2 separate regions of the Homo sapiens genome follow, and region 1 is linked to region 2. Evidence: promoter capture Hi-C in 16 types of primary human blood cells and fetal thymus (Javierre and others, 2016). All regions are on one chromosome and are shown on one strand. The core of a region is centred on a gene start or on the middle of the fragment in contact, and the rest is flanking DNA. Distances in the headings are between cores, read along the strand shown.

Region 1 (3,329 bases), core at 755-3,254, 200 kb after region 2:
TAATCACAAATTTATGTGAACTTCTAAAAATACTTCCTCAGCATCTATTAAAATGATCCTGTAGTTTTTCCTCCTTTCATCAGTTAATACGATAAGTAACACTGATAGACTTTTCTTTTTTTTTTTTTTTGAGACGGAGTCTTGCTCTGTCACCCAGGCTGGAGTGCAGTTGCACCATCACAGCCCACTGCAGCCTCAAACTCCTTGACTCAAATGTTCCTCCCACTTCAGCCTCCCAGGTAGCTAGGGTTACACGAGCATGCCACCATTCCAGGCTAATTTTTTTTTTTTCATTTTTTTAGAGACAGGAGTTTCACTGTGTTGCCCAGGCTGGTCTCAAACTCCTGGCCTCAAGCAGACCTCCCACCTCAGCATCCCAAAGTGCTGGGATTACTTGGTGTGAACCACCATGCCTGGCCCCACCCTTTCTATTATTGATAATGCTTTTAAAGTATAAGACAACTTTGCCTCATATCAAAATATATCTTTATATCTTTTTATATATATATATAATAGATAGATAGATAGATAGATAGATAGATAGATAGATAGGCTAGGCGTGGTAACTCACGCCTGTAATCCCAGCATTTTGGGAGGTTAAACGGGCAGATCACTTAAACTCAGGAGTTGGAGAGCAGCCTGGGCAACATGGTGAAACTATGTCTCTGAAAATTATTTTTAACCTTTTTGGATCCTTAAATTTTTGGTGAGCTCTCTTTTTGTGTGTGTGCAGATCTCTTTTAAGCTTCATCAATCTGGAATTTTTTTTTCCTACCCAGTCTCTGAATCTCTTACTTATTGATTTACAGACAGGGTCTCAGTCTGCCACCCAGGCTGGAGTGCGATGGTGCAATCACAGCTCACTGCAGCCTCCACCTCCCACTTCAGTCCCCTCTGTGCCTGGGACGACAGGCATGCACCACCATGCCTGGCTAATTTTTGGGTTTTTTGTTTGTTTTGTTTTGTTTGAGACAGGGTCTAGTTCTGCCACTCAGGCTGGAGTGCAGTGGCGTGACACAGCTCACTACAACTTCTGCCTCCTGGGCTCAAGCAATCCTCCCATCTTGCCTCCCGCGTAGCTGGGACTACAGGCATGCGCCACCACACCCAGCTAACTTTTGCAATTTTTGTAGAGACAGCGTTTTGCCATGTTGCCCAGGCTGGTCTCGAACTTGTGAGCTCAAGCAATTCACCCGCCTCAGCCTCCCAAAGTGCTGGGATTACAGGCATGAGCCCCCATGCCCAACCAGTTTTTTGGTTTTTGTTTTGAGACAAGGTCTAGTTCTGTCACTTAGGCTGGAGTGCAGTGGCATGACACAGCTCACTGCAATTTCTGCCTCCTGGGCTCAAGCAATCCTCCCGTCTTGCCTCCCACGTAGCTGGGACTACAGGCATGCACCACCACACCCAGCTAATTTTTGCAATTTTTGTAGAGACGGCATTTTGCCATGTTGCCCAGGCTGGTCTCAAACTCGTCAGCTCAAGCAGTTCACCTGCCTCAGCCTCCCAAAGTGCTGGGATTACAGGCGTGAGCCACAGTACCCAGCCAGTTTTTTGGTTTTTGTTTTGAGACAGGGTCTCGCTCTGTCACCCAGGCTGGAGTGCAGTGGCACAATCTCAGCTCACTGCAGCCTCGACTTCTGGGGCTCAGGTGATTCTCCCACCTCAGCCTCTTGAGTAGCTGGGATCACAGACGCACGCCACCATGCCCACCACGCCTGTGGCGGTGTTGCTGTGGGAACCTGGCCTCTGACCTCCCAGCCCACTGATACCTGCCAGGCCAGACCAGTTTCCTCCTCTCAGGACCTTTGGTTGGCCACTGCCCTGGGCCCAGATCCCACCTCTGTGCCCAGCACCTGACCACCCACGCTTTCTTCTTCAGCCACTGTGGAGCGGCTCACATTTCTTGATTTATCTCCTGTTTGAATTGGGGAGGGGGCCGTTTCCATGAACTCTCCTTTCCGTAAGACCAACAATGCTTCAAAAAATATGCTCATCCCGGGTCAGGTGGAGGGAGCAGGTGTGTCCCTCAGGGCTCCCACAGTCATGACTCAAAAGCTGAGGCCCCTGAAGCACTGAAATCTGAGCCACTCATGTGCAACTCAAAGCCGGTGCCCCTCCGCTGTTTCCCAGGCTTCTCACTGTTGGGTGACTCTGCTGTGACACCTTAGGGGCTGGTGATGTGTCGGGAGCTGTTTCCCCCCAAGCTGAGGGGCGTGGCTGGCTTTGTTTCTAGAGTCCTCCCGGTCCCCCTCAAAAGCCTCCCTGCACCAGCCTTGCTCCCAGACCCTCAGAAGTATGTGGTGCTGTGGCCTCTGCGTGCCTCGCTGGGCTGAGCCGGCACCACCTTCCCCGTCTGCTGCTTCTGGTTTACCAACGGCTGGAAAGACAAGGCTCCAGGCTCGAGGGTTTGTGCAAAGGGAAGTGGAGTCTACACAGGGTCTGGCAAGCTCCTCTGTGATCAGGGGGACCTTGGAGGGCATGGCACAGGCTGCTCTTTGCATCTTGCCTTGGCCATGAGTGGTTCATGAATCCATTTGAAGGCATGAAAATGTGGCACCAAGAATGCACATGTTGAGGTCAAACAGCCTGGGATCCAACCCTGTTCTTCTGCTTAGGCTGGTGTGACCCTAGACAAGTGATTTCATTCATCTAAGCCTCGGTTTCTTCATCTGTACCATGGGAATAACAACTGTATCTTGTTCTCAGAGTGCTGATGAGGATTGAGTGTGCTTATCCATGTAAAGAGACTGGCTATGCCTGCTGTTTATTCATTTACTTATTTATTGAGATAGGGTCTCACTGTGTCACCCAGGCTGGAGTGCAATGATGCAATCTCGGCTCACTGCAACCTCCATCTCCTGAGCTCAAGTGATCCTCCAACCTCAGCCTCCAGAGTAGCTGGGACCACAGACATGCGCCACCGTGCCTGGCTAATTTTTTGTATTTTTGGTAGAGATGGGGTTTTCAGGGAAGGTCTCGAACTCCTGAGCTCAAGCAATCCGCCCACCTCGGCCTCCCAAAGTGCTGGGATTACAGGCATGAGGCACCATGCCTGGCCACCTGCTGTTTAATTAGTGCTAAGTGTGTGTATGTGTGAGTGTGACTGTGTGTGTGTGTGCGTGTGCGTGTATGTGGCCCACAGAGAGAGTTTCAGCAGTACCCACCAGGGCCAGCTCTATACTAAGCCCTTGACACACACTGCCACATGAAGAAAGAGCTTCCAATATCTATCATTAAGGATGAGAAAATTGAGACTCAGCAAAGCTTACTGACTTTTCCAACATCCAACCCAGCCACCTGATTTGTGTCTCCAAATCCTCAACCAC
Region 2 (3,641 bases), core at 397-2,896:
ATATATATGTGTGTGTGTGTATATATATATGTGTGTGTGTGTGTGTATATATATATATATATATATATTTTTTTTTTTTTTTTTTTTTTTTTCTGAGACAGAGTCTCACTCTGTCACCCAGGCTGGAGTGCAGTGGCACAATCTTAGCTCACTGCAACCTCCACCTTTTGTGTTCATGCGATTCTCCTGCCTCAGCCTCCTGTATAGCTGGGAACACAGGCGTCCGCCACCACACCCGGCTAATTGTTGTATTTTTAGCAGAGACGGGGTTTCACCATGTTGGCCAGGCTGGTCTCGAGCTCCTGACCTCAGGTGTTCCACCCACCTCGGCCTCCCAAAGTACTGTGGTTACAGGCGTGAGCCACTGCTCCCAGCCTATTTTTATTTACTTTTTTTTTTTTTTTTTTTTTGAGACGGAGTCTCGCTCTTTCGCCCAGGCCAGACTGCAGTGGCGCTGTCTCTGCTCACTGCAACCTCCGCCTCCCGGGTTCACGCCATTCTCCTGCCTCAGCCTCCCGAGTAGCTGGGACTACAGGTGCCCGCCACCGCGCCCGGCTAATTTTTTGTATTTTTAGTAGAGTCGGGGTTTCACCGTGTTAGCCAGGATGGTCTCCATCTCCTGACCTCGTGATCCGCCCGCCTCGGCCTCGCAAAGTGCTGGGATTACAGGCGTGAGCCACCGCGCCCGGCCTTTTATTTACTTTTTGAGACAGGGCCTGGCTCTGTCACCCAGGCTGGAGTGCAATGGTGCAATCACAGCTCCCTGTAGCCTCAACCTCCTGGGCTCAGGCAATTCTCCCACCTCAGCCTCCCGAGTAGCTGAGACTACATACGCATGCCATCACTGCTGGCTAATTTTTGTGGTTTTGTTTTGTTTTTTATAGAGACGGGGTCTCGCCATGTTGCCGAGGCTGGTCTCAAACTCCTGGTCTCAAGCAATCCTCCTGTCTCCGCCTCCCAAGTGCTGGGATTATAGGCATGAGCCACCCGCGTCTCATCAATTAAATAAATAACCCCTAGGACGACTAAGATGTCTTCAAGATTACATGAGATCCCACATCTGAAGGTTTTTGCAAAGGACTTGGCACAAACTCGTGCGACTAGACATGGATATGGCTCTTGCTCTGGAAAGGATCACCTTGATAGGAGCAAACAAAGCTGGTCTTCGGTGCCCTTTAATCTCCCCTCCCAGCCTTCCACCTTCCACACTTTAAGAGTCGTCCCTGCCGACCCCCCGACCCCGTTTTTCTGAACCTCCCTTCCTCCCCTTGCATAGTCCAAAGCCTCTCTCTAAAGCAGCCCCCCGAAAACATCTGTCAAGTTCCAAACTTATCTGAATCGGAAGCTACCAATAGCCAACCTACATCTAAGGGGAACTGTAAGATTTCAGAAGAACAAGAAGCATAGGTCGCTTAGGCGTGGGCCACCCAAGAAGAGAGACTTAACACTAGGTAAGCCCGCGCTGGCTGCGAAGGCGGGAGCGGCACCAGGACCATCCAGGGCGCAGGCGCAGGGACCTCACGGCCACGCCACTACTCAGCCCGAGCTGGCCAATGGGGAGCGGCGGCCGGAAGAACGCGCGGCTTCGCTAGGTTCCGCGGCTTCCTCTGACCAAGCTTGACGTCACCAAAGCGCGCCGGAAATGCGAGGTCAACTGCGCGCCGCTGGCGCTGAGGGGAGGAAGTTTGCTGTCGAGCGGCCTGGGTTCCGTGGGCAAGGCCGTGGGAGGCAGCGTTGGCTGCTTCGACACACTGAGGGCGGCGCGATGGGAGACGAGATGGATGCCATGATTCCCGAGCGGGAGATGAAGGTCAGAGACTAACCGGGGCCTCCCTCCCTTCTTTAGTCCTGGCGTTGCCTTGGAGCCCAGCTGAAAGGCGAAGCGCGGTGCTGGCTGTCCCGCCTCCTGCTTGAACAGTTTACCGCGTTCACAGCTCTCACCAGCGCGTCTGCCGCGCCGCTGGCGTGATAGCCCCACCGAATGCAGTTTCCCAGTCCCATCCTGGTCTCGTGCACGGCTGTTGAGTTACCCTAGCTACTTCCTGGGGCGGTCACAATAGTGGCAATAACTGCTGTTTATTGAGTGTTGACTGTGTGCCAGGCACTGTGGTAGTCATCGCGGCAGCCCTACGAAGTAGTCGTTAACGTAGAGGAGTAAGTTGAGGCTCGGAAAGTAATTTCCCTAAAGTCACATTTGACGCGGGGCTGAAAGCCAGCATCATTTAAGACCTTTGCTCTCCCAGTACTTCTGTAAGGTGATACGGGCTTGCCTAACGTAGAGTCAGGGAAGGTCATCCATCCTGCAGAACCTTTAGTTGATTGGACTAGGAAGACTATTTTGACCTCGGTATATCAGCCTAAAGTCAGGAACCTAAAGGGAGGGCCAAGTGGTCCCAGTGATAGCAACGTGGGAGTCCCCCAGGGATAACTTCAGGATGGTGTGTTTAATAGTTCTTATATGGGTTCTGACAGAATGAGGGTACAACAGACGGGCTACATCTGTTTTAAATAGTGAAAAGAAGTAAGTTGCAGGAAGATTTTAGGCATCTGTGTGAACAATAAATCACTAAAATGCATTTAGGGCATAGTAATACCATGTTTAGAATAGTGATTTTTTTTTTTTTTTGAGACAGAGTCTTGCTCTGTCACCCAAGCTGGAGTGCAGTGGCATGATCTCGGCTCCCTGCAACCTCCACCTCCCCGGCTCAAGCGATTCTCCTGCTTCAACCTCCCTAGTAGCTGGTATTACAGGCGCCTGCCACCACGCCCCACTAATTTTTTATATCATTTGGTAGAGACTGGGTTTCACGATGTTGGCCAGGCTGGTCTCGAACTCCTGACCTAACGTGATCCGCCCTCCTCTGGCTCCCAAAGTGCTGGGATTATAGGCGTGAGCTACCGTGCTGTCCTAGAATAGTGATTATTTTTTGAGAATCACCACCTGTGGTGAGCCACCTAATGGGGTTGTGTCATATTCCTCAGATATGCTGGGGTAGAAGAAAAAAAGGTTTTATTAATAGAACCACAGACTTAGAAGATGGTAATCTCGCACTCCCTTTGGCAGCACATATAAAATTGGGATCATGCAGAGAAGACTATTATGGCCCCTTTACATGGATGACAGACAAATTCATGAAGTGTTCCATATCAGAAAAAAATGAGGGCCGAGTGTGGTGGCTCATGCCTGTGAGCTTGCACTTTGGGAGGCTGAGGTGGATGGATCACTTGAGGTCCGGAGTTCGAGACTAGCCTGGCCAACATAATGAAACCCTGTGTCTACTAAAAATACAAAAATTAGATGGCCATGGTGGCGGGTGCCTGTAATCCCAGCTACTTGGGAGTCTGAAGCAGGAGAATCGCTTGAACCTGGGAGGCAGAGGTTGCAGTGAGCCAAGATCGCTGCACTGCACTCCAGCCTGGACGACAGAGCGAGACTCCATCTCAAAAAAGAAAAAAAGACAATTGAGACAGACCTTGGTCTCAGTAATACATATTTTTGTTGTACTGAAATTGGGTCTACTGAATATAACATGTTTTAATTTCTTTCTTTATTGAATTGATCTCGTTTTGATTCTTCACAACAGGATTTTCAGTTTAGAGCGCTAAAGAAGGTGAGAATCTTTGACTCCCCTGAGGAATTG

Evidence for each region. Contacts are between HindIII fragments. The CHiCAGO score rates a contact against its expected background, and 5 or more counts as called.
Region 1: a contact is called between a fragment that was not itself captured here and the fragment with the promoter of NUP214 in region 2, in 1 of 17 cell types (endothelial precursors). The highest score is 7.0, in endothelial precursors.

What each region holds. Positions count from the first base shown.
Region 1 is chr9:131,327,252-131,330,580 of GRCh38, forward strand. All of the region lies in intron 1 of LOC105376299 (a long non-coding RNA gene), which reads left to right. Among named protein-coding and RNA genes, the nearest start is that of PLPP7, 39 kb to the left of the region's middle. RefSeq lists an enhancer at 2,876-3,329. The HindIII fragment of the contact is 2,522 bases long and covers 744-3,265 here.
Region 2 is chr9:131,123,940-131,127,580 of GRCh38, forward strand. It overlaps NUP214 (nucleoporin 214), which reads left to right and starts at 1,647. Exons shown (of 36, transcript NM_005085.4): 1 at 1,647-1,810; 2 at 3,585-3,641. The coding sequence starts at 1,766. It also overlaps the pseudogene RNU6-881P. RefSeq lists an enhancer at 1,546-1,845. The HindIII fragment of the contact is 3,004 bases long and covers 1,615-3,641 here.